Regions from separate parts of the Homo sapiens genome. Here region 2 is linked to region 1. The links are contacts of gene promoters, found by promoter capture Hi-C in blood cells and fetal thymus (Javierre and others, 2016). All regions are on one chromosome and are shown on one strand. Each heading gives the region's core, a stretch centred on a gene start or on the middle of the fragment in contact. The rest is flanking DNA. Distances are from core to core; before and after follow the strand shown.

The links. The method cuts DNA at HindIII sites, captures the fragments that hold promoters and counts their contacts. A CHiCAGO score of 5 or more calls a contact.
Region 2: a contact is called between a fragment that was not itself captured here and the fragment with the promoter of NEXMIF in region 1, in 1 of 17 cell types (naive CD4 T cells). The highest score is 5.9, in naive CD4 T cells.

The regions. Positions count from the first base shown.
Region 1 is chrX:74,922,091-74,928,831 of GRCh38, reverse strand. It overlaps NEXMIF (neurite extension and migration factor), which reads left to right and starts at 3,380. Exons shown (of 4, transcript NM_001008537.3): 1 at 3,380-3,949. RefSeq lists a silencer at 4,342-4,501 and an enhancer at 5,747-5,806. The HindIII fragment of the contact is 8,655 bases long and covers 1-4,895 here.
Region 2 is chrX:75,276,038-75,282,778 of GRCh38, reverse strand. The region is part of intron 1 of UPRT (uracil phosphoribosyltransferase homolog); the gene reads right to left. Among named protein-coding and RNA genes, the nearest start is that of UPRT, 5.3 kb to the right of the region's middle. The HindIII fragment of the contact is 3,451 bases long and covers 3,150-6,600 here.

The DNA of each region.
Region 1 (6,741 bases), core at 2,131-4,630:
ACTCTTCATAAATGAACAGTCTAGAAAGGGAAGAAGACACATAAGCAGACAGTGTCAGTATCATATACTAAGTGTAATGATTACAGTAAACCCAAATGCTATGGGAGCACAGAGAGAATGCCCAGGCTAGTCTAAAGGTAGGGATGGGCCCTCAAAAGTTTTCATGGAGTAACTACAGTTAATATCTGTGCCTGGCCCATTGAAAACATTCAGTAAAAGTTAGCTATTATCACCATGCCAGTACACGTTGTCCCTGCCCTCAAGGAGCTCATGGCCTAGCAAAGGAGAAAGTACCAATATATAACTATAATAATATGCAATTTAAGCTATATGGTCTGTTGGAGAAAACAGACATGGATAATAACTCACATTCAGTGAAGGCTGCCTATGTGCCAAGCAGTGTTCTGAGGACATTATATTTATTCCTTCATTTAGTTCCCATAACAACTCCATGGTTAACACAATTTTTTTTCTCAATTATTAATATAAATGAGGAAACTGAAGCACAGACAAGTAAAGTAACTTGCCCAAAGCCACACAACTAATGGACATTGTTAAGTAGTCACACTTAAACCTGTCTTAAAGAAGAAGAAAAGCCACCTGGAAGATGACCTGGCACTCACAGGTAGGCCATGGCTGGTCTCCTGATGGACATAAACACTCTCACAAAATACTGACATCAGACAATGTTACACTGAGAACATGACAAAATGAAACAAAACAAGGCCTCTTCATAATTTTGTCTAAGCACAGACAAAAAACCCACAAAAGCCTTATCTCCACTTTAGTCTACCTCCCAATAGATAAGATTTATTAAGATGCCCAGTCACAGAATTGCCCTTGCTTTCTGAGAGCATTCAATGTAGAATTAATTCCCACTTTCTTAAACCCTCCCCCAATTACCCAACCAAAATCCAAATCCTATAAGTCCTTTCTACCACCTTTTATCTGAGACACCCCATGATTTCCTGTTTTATTAGTTCGCTCTGGCTGCCATAACAAAATATTACAGACTGAGTGATTAAAACAACTGAGATTTATTTTCTCACAGTTCTGGAGGTTAAAAGTCCAAGATGAAGGTGTCAGTAGGTCTGGTTTCTCCTGAGATCACCATCTCCTTGGCTTGCAGATGGCCTTTTTGTGTTGTCTGTGTCCTAATTTTCTCCTCTTATAAGGACCTCAGTCATATTAGATTAGGGCCCATTCTCAAGGCCTTATTTTAACTTAGTATCCTCTGCAAAGGCCCTATCTCCAAGCAGTCACATTCTGGGGTACTGGGAATAGTCAGAGCTTCAACATATGAATTTTTGGGGAAATGCAAATCAGCCCATAACACCCATGGTGTGTGTTCTCCCTCACTCTAACAAGTAGTAAACCCAAATTGTTCAACTACAGTTGTGTTTCTGGTAGTTTTTGGCTGGAGGGCATTGACAAAAATTATAACTGGTAACAAATAAGCAACTAACTTTATAAAGGAAGAATAGCATATGTAGTTAATACAGGTGAAAACAATGTGCTTTCCGACAACGGAAAAAGAGCAATTCATTCTGGATATTGAGATCCAGCCAATAGATGGGTGGCATTTTACATGTTTAACCTTTTTTGTTTGTTTGTTTTTGCTTTTGAGAACAGAGGCCAAATTTTGTCTTCTTATTTATTCCAGTGCCTGAAAGATGCAAATATATTTGCACAGTGTCTCACAAATGCAAGATAAATAACATATCATCCCTATCCTCAGGACACATATACCTAACTTCCTTGTGACTCGATTTTCTCATTTGTAAAATGGAGATAGTAAAATTGTGTTTGTTGTGAAGATTAAATAATTCATGTAAATTGCTTAGCACAGTGTCTGGCACATAGTAAGGACCCAATAAGTATAATTATTTCAGGATGAGCTATTATTTATGGATGAGTTTCATAGATATAAAATGAGAGGGAGAAATAACAAGAGTGTTTCAAGCAAGTGGGATGACAGAAACAAAGGCACAGAGATGGGGAGTTGTAAAAGCCATACAGACAGTTTATTGTCCAGGAATGAAAGACCCATGGTAGAGCGCCTCAAACTTGGTAAAGTGACCCAGACCTTATTGTCAATGGGATATCTGGAACATTTATCTCCTGTACTTTGCCAGGGAAAAGAAAATATACCCCCGCCTCTGCACTGTTTCTGGGGAGGGATTGTGTGACAGGTGATGGTGAGAAGTTGCACACATCAGATCTCAAAGCCTGAGCCCTCGTAGCAAAATGACGCTGTAGCTGTGGCAGCAAAGAAATCTGAAATGAGGCCCTGCCTGACTGGAGAAGCTGTGCTTTGGCAATGATGTTGGAGCAAGTGCACACAAAGTAGCTACTTTTACCCCTTCTGTTCTAGTACCAACCTTTTCATCTCTTGCCTTGGCTCCTAGTGGTGACAAATCTCCCGAGGCTCAGGCCTCAACCTTGCACCCAGGACTCCAGAAGTACTAAATGGTCCCTCCTGAGTTGCTCTCCAATCGTTTTGCTGTTTCCTGTTGAGTTCCCAGGACGTCTGAAGGAAAATGACCACCTAAGAGATTTTTCAATGACAGCCATCAGGCAGATCTGTTTTCCTTCCTGGCCATATTCAGCTTCCCTTCTTTCCTTTATTCCCCAAACGTCACTCCCCAATTGTCTGCCTTCATCCAACCCTTCAAAAAGGACCCACCTTCCTGGGGGCCCAGGCCCTTAAGTTAAGAGTAGGTAAAGGTTGAATGGTTAGATGCTTGGTGGATGAAACCATTCAAATATTCTTCCCCAAACTTCAGAGTGCCCCTCTCCGCACACACAACTGCCCTAAAAGGCATGGGAGAGTGGTGTCCGGTTGCGTGTCTGCCAGGGGAAGAACGCACCACTGGCGTAGTGGACTGGAAGGGCAGCAGGAACGCGAGTGGGGGGCGGGGTGGGAATGGGGAAGGGGGGTGCGCGCCCTTTATGACAGGTGGCCGCGCAGTGCGCGCTCCCGGGCGCCCGAGGGGAGGGAAGGACAGACGGACAGAGTTGGGGGGGCACATAAGGAAGGGACCATAGAGAGGGTAAGGAGAGCGGGAGGGAAAGGGAGAGCTGTGGTGGGGAAGAAGGGTAGAGGGGGGAAGGCGTCCAGCAAGAACAGCCGTGTTGGAGGAAACAATGGCAGGGGCAACAGCGATGGTGGCAGCAGAGGCGGCCCCACTCTGGGCACCTTTCTGAATGGGCAGAGACAGCTCCGGGAGAAGAGGGGACCAGGCAGTGCCTGCAGAGGCTCTGAGAAAAGCGGCAGAGGGAGGAGAAGAGGGAGGAGGAAGAGAAGGAGGAGGAGGAGTAGGAGGAGGAGGAGGAAGGGGGAGGAGGGGGGACGAGGCAGGGGAAGAACCTGGGAAGGAAAACCAGTAGCATCAGCAGCAGCAGCAGCAGCCGCCGCCGCCACCACCGCCGCCACAGCAGTAGCATTAGCGGCAGTAGCAGCATTTAGCAATAGCTTTAACAGCTATAGCGACAGTAGCAGCCGCCCTCCTCTCTCCCTCTCGCGGACGGCCGCAGCCACCGCACAGAGCGGGCTCCAGGCGCCGAGCGCGCAGCCCGCTCGCTAGGTAGCTCCAGCCGGGGCGAGCGACAGTGTAAGCGAAGCACGGACCCTTGGAGCAGCCGGGCAGCCGCGGAGGCTCTGAGTTTCAGGGCCAGAGCCCGACAGCTCTGACTCCATCTAGCGCGGCGGCGGCGGAGCCTGAGGGAGCGAGCGAGGAGAGAGGCGCGTCCACCTGGCGGGCCCAGCGTATGGAGCTGAGGCAGAGGCGGCGGCGGCGGCGGCAGCAGTAGCAGCGGCGGTGGCGGCTAAGGCAGCTCGAACAGCTGCGGCGACGGCGACAGCCCAGCCTTGACTGCGACCGCGCTAGCTACAGCGCCTGCTGCCTGAGCCCGCCAGCGACGTGCGCCTCGGGAGTCGGCCTGTGAGGTGAGTAGGAGCGCTGCCATACAGCTTCCTGGCCTTCTCGCCGGCTCCCCGGCTGGCTCGGGGTGGCGGCCGCAGGGGGTGGAATGAACTGGGGTAAGTCGAGCTAGACGAGAAGGAAGGGAAAACGGAACGGAGGACGTCTGTATGCGAATGTGTGTGTCTGTGTATGAGGGAGCGAGGCCGCTAGGGCGAGAGATCCCGGCTCGCCCTGACAGGCACTGCAATCTAGGAAAGGCCTCTGTGCTTGCGCCGTAGGAAGGGGGTTGCGGGGGGAGGGGAAGCGAGCGGACCGGAGCCGCCGCGCTTACACGCACGCAGCTCGGCAGAGTGCCGCCTCCTTTCGGACTGGTGCAGGGTAGAGCCTGGCCAGGGAATGGGGCATGGGCATGGCACGCTTCGGCGAGAGCGGGAAAACCCACGCGGCGGCCGAGGCCGGGCGCTCGGACCAAAGCCGCAAAGGTGCGAAGCCGGGCGGCCGTGGCGACCACAGAGCGCCCCCAGGACACGCGCCACTCGGCCGAGGCTGCGGACAGGTTTAAGTTGGAGGCCAGACCGAGCCTCGCCCAGCTCATCTCCTTTGCGGAAATTGGCTTGTGGCCCCTTCGCGCTCTCGGTGGCGGTCGAATTGACGCTTTTCTGTGTGGCTTCTGGCGCTTCTCTCTGCCGCGCCCCGCAGCACACGTCGGCTCGCGTCTTGTACACCCTGTAGGGCGGGAAGGCCGTGAGCCGGCGCGGGGAGCGGAGTCCCGCTCCGGGAAAGTGTGGAAACCGCGCTGCTGAGTTGGCGCCGTTCCGCTGAGGAATTCAGCGATTTCAGCATGACTGCTTCTGTCTGTCTGATTCGTGAGGGACCGAATCACCCGCGCAAGGTTTTCTGTCTTTTTCGAAGTTAAAAAAAAATTGGCATCCCCATTTCGACAACAGCACTCTTGATTTTTATCAAGCTTCTGGTTGCATTTTGGAATAAGTGGGTCTCATATTTTGCTTCTGGATCTTGGCTCCCAGCATATTGTTGAATGCTGTGCACAGCACTACATTTAGATATGTGGCCTTTTTCTAATGTTGCATTTTCTAGACTGTTATCTGAAAAGACATGATTTGTGTTGTAGGGCTGGCAGGGCTGTTTTTAAAAATGTCTAAAGCACTTTAATCCCGGGATTTGAATATATCCTTGGTTGTTTTTGGTGGAGGAGTTCCTGGAATATTTTGCTTGGTGAGAAAAGGTGCTGTAATGGTCTTCTCTGAACTCCTTACGACCATTTGTGTTTTGGAGGGGTGAATCTCCCTTACATCTTTTACACATGAGGTAACATATGACCAAACGTTTTATTTACAGCAGTGACGTTCTTATGGCTGAGGAGAATTTACACTTATTGAAAAAATATTTTTAGAAGGGAACAAAAAAGTCCTAAGTAACTGTCATTTTACATATTAACTGGGAAACCGGCTAATCAAATAAAACTGGCTGAGTGTCTGAAACTCTATCCCAGTGAAATATGTGGCTGTGAATATAATTAACCATCTGTCTAGTGAGCAATTTAAATTTGGGCTGGTACATTTTTATTACAGTGTCTAATTTCTGGAAGACATACATTTTACCCAGCAGTAACAACAAAAACGTATTTGCTTACTAGGTCAAAAATTTACTGTGTGGTGGTGGTATTTCCCTTTCTTCCTCCATGTCTTTCATAGTCCCCACACTGCGTAACCTGGGAGGTCAAAAATGAGCTTCTTGTTTTTGCAAATAGCGTATTTACAATAGAGGAACTGAAACTAGCCCTGGTGGCTAGTGATTAGACATTTTTGTCTCTTAGAAATACTTTCCAATATTTCACCTCCCCGAAAATCTAGATAGATTGCATGCATGCTAGTTAAAAAAATATAATTTTTTGGTGCACATGGGGTAGGGTGATTGAACAAAATTTGTAAGACTTGAAATTTCTCTATTTACTTTCTCTTATTCTGATGAATTCTCTACCTGGCTGTCCCAACTGGCCCCCCCAGACATAAACTCATACAAAAACACATGCTTTTTTCCTTTTAGACAGTTTTTAAGGTTAACAGCATTCAGATCTGTGATTTTAACAATATACTGATAAACTGCTTTTTTTTGTAAATCGTAAGTGTAAAATACCATGACATAAAAATACATTGTACATATATTTAAAGTTTTCCCTATGGTGTGATTTTAGCCAGAAATTTATTACTAGGAAAAAAGAGGGATAGAGTTTGAGTAGAGATGAAATGGCTCCGGGAAGATTAGATTTGAGAGACCTTCACCAAATAGCTATTGTTAACATAACATAATTTAAATGAACCACGGATTGATTGTGCAGTAAGCTAGAGAAAGTCATTTAAAGGAAAATATTTTTAAAGCAAATATTTGCCTAAATAACAGCTCTGATAAATTGGTAACAATTATGTAAGTACATGGCAGAATTTGACATATGTCAAGTCTGTTAAATAAATCAACCTGTTCAGTGAATAAATCTTTGATGCATCAGTGCTTTTTCACACACACACACACACACACACACACACACACCCATAACACCCTGTTGCCAAAGTCAAACAACTGCAGTACTGCCACTTTCTGTTTTACTTCAAGTCTGTCCCTTTTCCCTCTTTTTCTTTTTTCCACAATCTTCTGGTTACCTGTAAGCTACCTGGTGAGCAGAGAGAACTAAAGGTGAGGTGGTGTTGCCTGTGTTTAGGAGGTGGGAGAAGATGAGAAAAGTGCTAAGTGTTGGAGCACACAAAGATGGGTTCATGGATCCTGGACACGGTCACTA
Region 2 (6,741 bases), core at 3,626-6,125, 350 kb before region 1:
GATACATACAGAACATTTCGTCCAACAACTGCAGAATACATATTCTATTCAACAGTGCATGGAACTTTCTCCAAGACATACCATATGATAGGCCATAAAACAAGCCTGAATAAATTTAAGAAAACTGAAATTATATCAAGCACTCTCTCAGACCGCAGTGGAATAAAACTGGAAATCAACTCCAAAAGTAACCTTCAAAATCATGCAAATACATGAAATTAAATAACCTGTTCCTGAATGATCACTGGGTCAAAAACAAAATCAAGATGGAAATTTAAAAATTCTTCAAACTGAATGACACATACCTCCCAAATAATGACACAACCTCCCAAAACCTCTGGCATACAGCAAAGGCAGTGCTAAGAGGGAAGTTCACAGCCCTAAACACCTACATCAAAAAGACTGAAAGAACACAAACTGACATTCTAAGGTCACACCTCAAGGAACTAGAGAAACAAGAACAAACCAAACCCAAATCCAGCAGAAGAAAGGAAATAACCAAGATCAGAGCAGAACTAAGTGAAATTGAAGCAAAAAAAAAAATATAAGATAAATGAAACAAAAAGCTGGTTCTTTGAAAAGATAAATTAAATTAATAGACTATTAGCAAGATTAACCAAGAAGAGAGAAAATCCAAATGACCTCACTAAGAAATGAAACAGGAGATATTACAACTGACACCAGAGAAATACAAAAGATCATTCAAGGCTACTATGAACACCCTTACACACATAAACTAGAAAACCCAGAAGAGATGGATAAATTCCTGAAAAAAATACAACCCTCCTTGCTTAAATCAGGAAAAATTTGATACCCTGAACAGACCAATAACAACCAGCAAGACTGAAATGGTAATTTAAAAATTACCAACAAAAAAAAAGTCCAGGATCAGATAGATTCACAGAAGACTTCTATGAGACATTCAAAGAAGAATTGAAAACATTCCTTTTGACACTATTCCACAAGACAGAGAAAGAGGGAATGCTCCCTAATTCATTCTATGAAGCCAGCATCACCCTGATAGCAAAACCAGGGAAGGATATGACCAAAAAAGAAAACTACAGACTGATATCCTTGATGAACATAGATGCTAAAATCCTTAACAAAATACTAGCTAACCAATTCCAACAGCACATCAAAAAGATAATCCACCATGATCAAGTGGGTTTCATATCAGGGATGCAGGGATGGTTTAATGTATGCAAGTCAATAAATGTGACACACCACATAAACAGAATTAAAAACAAACATCACAGGATCATCTCAATAGATGCAGAAAAAGCATTCAACAAAATGCAGCATACCTCCATGATTAAAACTCTCAGCAAAATCAGCATAGAAAGGACACAACTTAATGTAATAAAAGCCATCTATGACAAACCCACAGACAACATAATACTAAATGGGGAAAAGTTCAAAGCATTCACTCTAAGAACTGGAACAAGACAAGGATGCCACCCTCACCATTCCTCTTCAACATAGTACTGGAGGTCCTAGCCAGAGCAATCAGACAAGAGAAAGAAATAAGGGGCATCCAAATTGATAAAGTGGAAGTCAGACTGTCACTGTTTGCTGAGGATATGATCTTTTACCTTGAAAACCCTAAAGGCTCCTCCAGAAAGCTCCTAGAACTGATAAAAGAATTCAGCAGTTTCTGGATACAAGATTAATGTACACAAATCAGTAGCTCTTCTATACACAAACAGTACCCAAGCTGAGAATCAAATCAAGAACTCAACCCTCTACAATAGCTGCCAAAAAAAATAAAATCCTTAGGAATTTACCTAAGGAGTTGAAAGACCTCTACAAGTAAAACTTCAAAACACTGCTGAAAGAAATAATAGATGACACAAATGAATGGAAACACATCCCATGCTCATGGATGGGTAGAGTCAATATTGTGAAAATGATCATACTGCCAAAAGCAATCTACAAATTCAATGCAATTCCCATCAAAATACCACCATCATTCTTCACAGAATTAGAAAAAACAATTCTAAAATTCATATGGAACCACAAAAGACCCCACACAGCCAAAGCAAGACTAAGCAGAAAGAACAAACCTGGAAGTGTCACACTACCTGATTTCAAACTATACTATAAGGCCACAGTCATCAAAACAGCATGGCACTGGTACAAAAATAGGCACAAAGACCAATGGAACAGAACAGAGAACTCAGAAATAAACCCAAATACTTATAGCCAACTGATCTTCGACAAAGCAAACAAAAATATGAAGTGGGGAAAGGACACCCTTTTCAACTAATGTTGCTGGGATAATTGGCTAACCACATGTAGGAGAATGAAACTGGATCCTCATCTCTCACCTTATACAAAAATCAACTCAAGATGGATTAAGGGCTGAAATCTAAGACCTGAAACTATAAAAATTCTAGAAGATAACTTTGGCTTACATACATTGGCTTAGCCAAAGATTTCATGACCAGGAACACAAAAGCAAATGCAATAAAAACAAAGATAAATAGCTGGGACTTAATTAAACTAAAGAGCTTTTGCACAGCAAAAGAAACAGTCAGCAGAGTAAACAGACAACCCATATAGTGGGAGAAAATCTTCACAATCTATACATCTGACAAAGGACTAATATCCAGAATCTACGAGGAACTCAAACAAATCAGCAAGAAAAAAAAAAACAAACAATCCCATCAAAAAGTGGGCTAAGGACATGAATAGACAATTCTCAAAAGAAGATATACAAATGGCCAACAAATATATATATATGATGGAATACATATCAAATATATATATATGATGGAATACTAGTCAGCCATTAAAAAAATGAATTAACAGCATTTGCAGTGACCTGGATGAGATTAGAGATTACTATTCTAAGTGATGTAACTCATGAATGGAAAACTAAACATCATATGTTCTCACTAGTATGTGGCAGCTAAGCTATGAGGATGCAAAGATATAAGAATAATATAATGGACTTTAGCAACTTGGGAGGAAAGGGTGGGAGGGGGTCAAGGGATAAAAGACTACAAATATGATGCAGTGTATACTGCTTGGGTGATGGGTGCACCAAAATCTCATAAATCACCACTAAAGAACTTACTCATGTAATCAAATACCACCTGTACCCCAATAACTTATGGAAAAAAATAAATAAGTGAAACCTGAAAGCTTTAAAAAAATAAAACAAATGTTGAAATTATTGCAAAAAAATGGGACAGAAAAACAAGGGAAACTATCATTTTATCTGATTACAATTGCTACATTAATTATCCTTTGTGTCAGGGACTGTGCCAGGTCAGACCCCCTTTCTGCCTCCTTGGAGTCCAGTCTAGTTAGGTATACCAGGATATGCCCAGTAAATGTTATAACAGAGGTCCGTATAGCTTAGTGGTGACTTCCTCCTTCCTGCTCTAAAAGTCAGAGGACTCACACGGGAAACACACAAAAACCGAAAATATGTCCATGTTTTAAACAATTTGCACGTCACAGTTTTTTTCTGCGGTGGGCATTTTGGTTTTGTGCAAGCTGGAAGGAAATGTTGGGAGATTCCTCCAGTGTTGATGTAATGCTAGGTCAGGCTCTCTAGCCTAGTTCTGTTTAGTGTGTGGAATCCCTGGATCACCATATCTATAGCCCGAATCAGCAGGCTAGCAAATCAGCACACAAGGGAGACTGGCCATTCTCCCAGGGGCAATGGCCCAGTCTAAACACAGCACAATTACCTGTGGTCAGGTTTTACTCAAGACTATACAAACAACTGCTAAGGATGGGAGTCAGGAACTTGTATTTTAAAAAAAGAGAGAGAGACTCCACAGGCAATTCTGATGCACACAGCTTTGGTTAAGGACAATACATTACTTAGTCACATAACTCAAATCACATTAGATTGCACTCACATTAGGGTTACACAGGATGTTCATTCACCCTAAGGATAATTTTCTCCCCTCCAGGTGACTAAAGAGAGTCACAAGGCTGAATGTGCTCCTTTTTTTGTCCTATGTCACATACTGACATACTCTAACATTGCTAAACTTTTAAACAAGCAGCTTGCTGAGGCCATGCCAAAGCCCCACCTAGGACAAATACACAGGAAGCATTCAACAGCTCACACAACAGCTTTAATGTTTCAGGAAACAAAAAATAAAAAACAAAAAACTGGACAGGGAGGATGATCTTTTAAATACACTGCATTGCCTTTAAATATGAGGTCATGAACTATATTCACAGGAAAAGCACATTACTCAGATTTTGCTGAGTTTAGTATATAAAGGAGGCAGAAGAGAAGGATGTGTGGTTTAATCCATTGCAACAACAACAAAACGACATAAATGAAGAAATTTTTTCTTATCCCAAGTTCACCAGCAACCCACATACGTATGGCTGAGCAAATAATCTACTCAGTGTTTACTGCACTTTCAAAGAGAGAAATTTATTTCCTTGAAATTCAATAATACAACCAACATATTATGTTTCAAATATTGCACATTTCAAAATCTAAAAAGACATTTTAAATCAATACAGACAATGTTCTCAATCTTGCCTGTTTCACATATATACAACAACATGCAGTCCTGCTGGCTCAATCCCGATTTCCCCATACCAAAGTCAATTCACAAAGCAATCCCTTCACTATATAGATGCTAAGGACCAGAAACAATAAAAGAAAAAATATGTACTCCAGTGGCTTCTATTATCGGACAGTTCCACAGTGCACATTTATGCTGTCACATCAAAATAGAGAAGAGAATAAGCCCCAAAGAGAACAGGGTATGATAACTGATGGCACCTTCCATAACTAGACCTATGTAAATATAGCTCCTCTTACCATAGGCACCTTAAACCAGCCTCCTAGAGGGGCTAAAACAGGTCTTGTGAGAGAGGATGACAATTTTTTAAAGATAAAGGGAATATAAAGCCTCTAATTTGGTTAACAAAAACAAAACTAAAAACAATGTCCCCAGCCTAAATAAGCAGCAATACATTACTAAAAATTGTGGTGGGTCTTTCCATACTATATCAAAACAAGATAAAAATTATCTACAATATCCCAGTATTCATTTTCAAGATAAAAAAGTGAATTCCACATAGAGTTAAATTCATTTTACTGTCTTCTGACAAATCAAGAAGACAGCACTTATGAATGCAATTAGAAGCATGCACAAATCCAAACATGAGGCTTGAAATTCCTTAAATGTGAACAGCTCTTCACAGTTCATAATGAATATTCATGAACAGTATCTTGTTTTAGCCTCCCAGGGGCTCCATGTGATATTTACCAACATCTTCATTTTACAAATGATAAAGGTGAAGCACAGAGATGCTAAACATATTGCCTAAATCACTTCTCTGGATCCTGCTGTCTCCTTCCAAACTTAGAGGAAAAAAAAAAAAGGATTCCACTTACACCCAGGTTTACTACATAACCCAGGTTTTTCTGACTAATGACATATAATCAGGTATTATTTTGTCATATGTGAATGCTAAATGCCATTCCCTCTCCAAGCGCTATAGCAAGGGCACTTCACCTTTACATTATCATGACACTTTGTGAAATCTAAAAAACTAAGGAATCCTCACCCTCTAAAAAAAAAGGCACATATGTGAATGTTCATAGCAGCATTATTCATAATAGCCAAAGAGTGGTAAACCACCCAAATGTTCACCAACTGATGGATAAACAAATTGTGGTATATTCATATAATGGAGTATCATTTAATCATAAAAAGGAAAGATCCCACACGGATGAACCTTGAAAACATGCTAAATGAAATGAGTCACAAAATGACCACATATTGTATGATAATGAAATGTCCAGAATAGACATTTTTTATATGTAATGTGCAGAATGGGCAAACCATTAGAAATAGAAAGTAGATTAATGATTGTCTAGGGCTTTGGGTGGGTTGGGTGAAAATGGGGAGTGACTGTTTAATGGGCATGAGGTTTCTTGCTGGGGTGATGACAAATGTTCTAAAACTGTGGTGATGAATGCACAGCTGTGAACATACTTAAAACCACTGAATTATACACTTTAAATTCTTGAACTGTATGGTCTGTGAATTATATCTCAATAAAGATGTTATTTAAAAACAACTATTAAAAATCTTCATATGAGTAAAATTTCCCAGTTAATTTATGAGGGTTTGTTAAAGCCCTGAACCCATCTACTGGTACGAGGGAGTCGAAGACCCAAGCGTAGTAACTTCTGCTCTATAGAAACAAGAATCATCATCTATTTTTCTTTGTTGTATATGTAAGATTTATTTTGGCTGCCCCTACCCTACCACAACTACAGCAAACCTATGCCTCCTATTTTTTAGGATCACTATTTTGTCTATTAGATAACATAACCACAGTAGTTTTCAATATTGATTCATTAAAAAGAGTAAAATAGTATAGTTTCATAAATATAATTTTAAGAGCTACAAAAAAACTCTAGTAATTGAGCATCTATTATTTGCAAGGCATGGCCGGCATTCAAAAATGTAAAAGATTTCTGCCTTCAAGATGTCATAGGCAGGATAAGATCTATACAAAAATAACAATATACGAAAAAGAAGGTGAATCTTGCATTAAAAAGACCAGGGAAGATAAGCCAGGAATAATGATTAAAGGGAAGCTTCTTGGCAGAGGTGGACAATTATTTAATGCTGTGTTTCACCCTGAAGAATAAGTATCCTGAACGTACATAAAGGAGACACAGGGAATTCCAGATGAGAGCAGAAACAGATATGTTTCAGAATTGTTCCTAGGAACTATGAA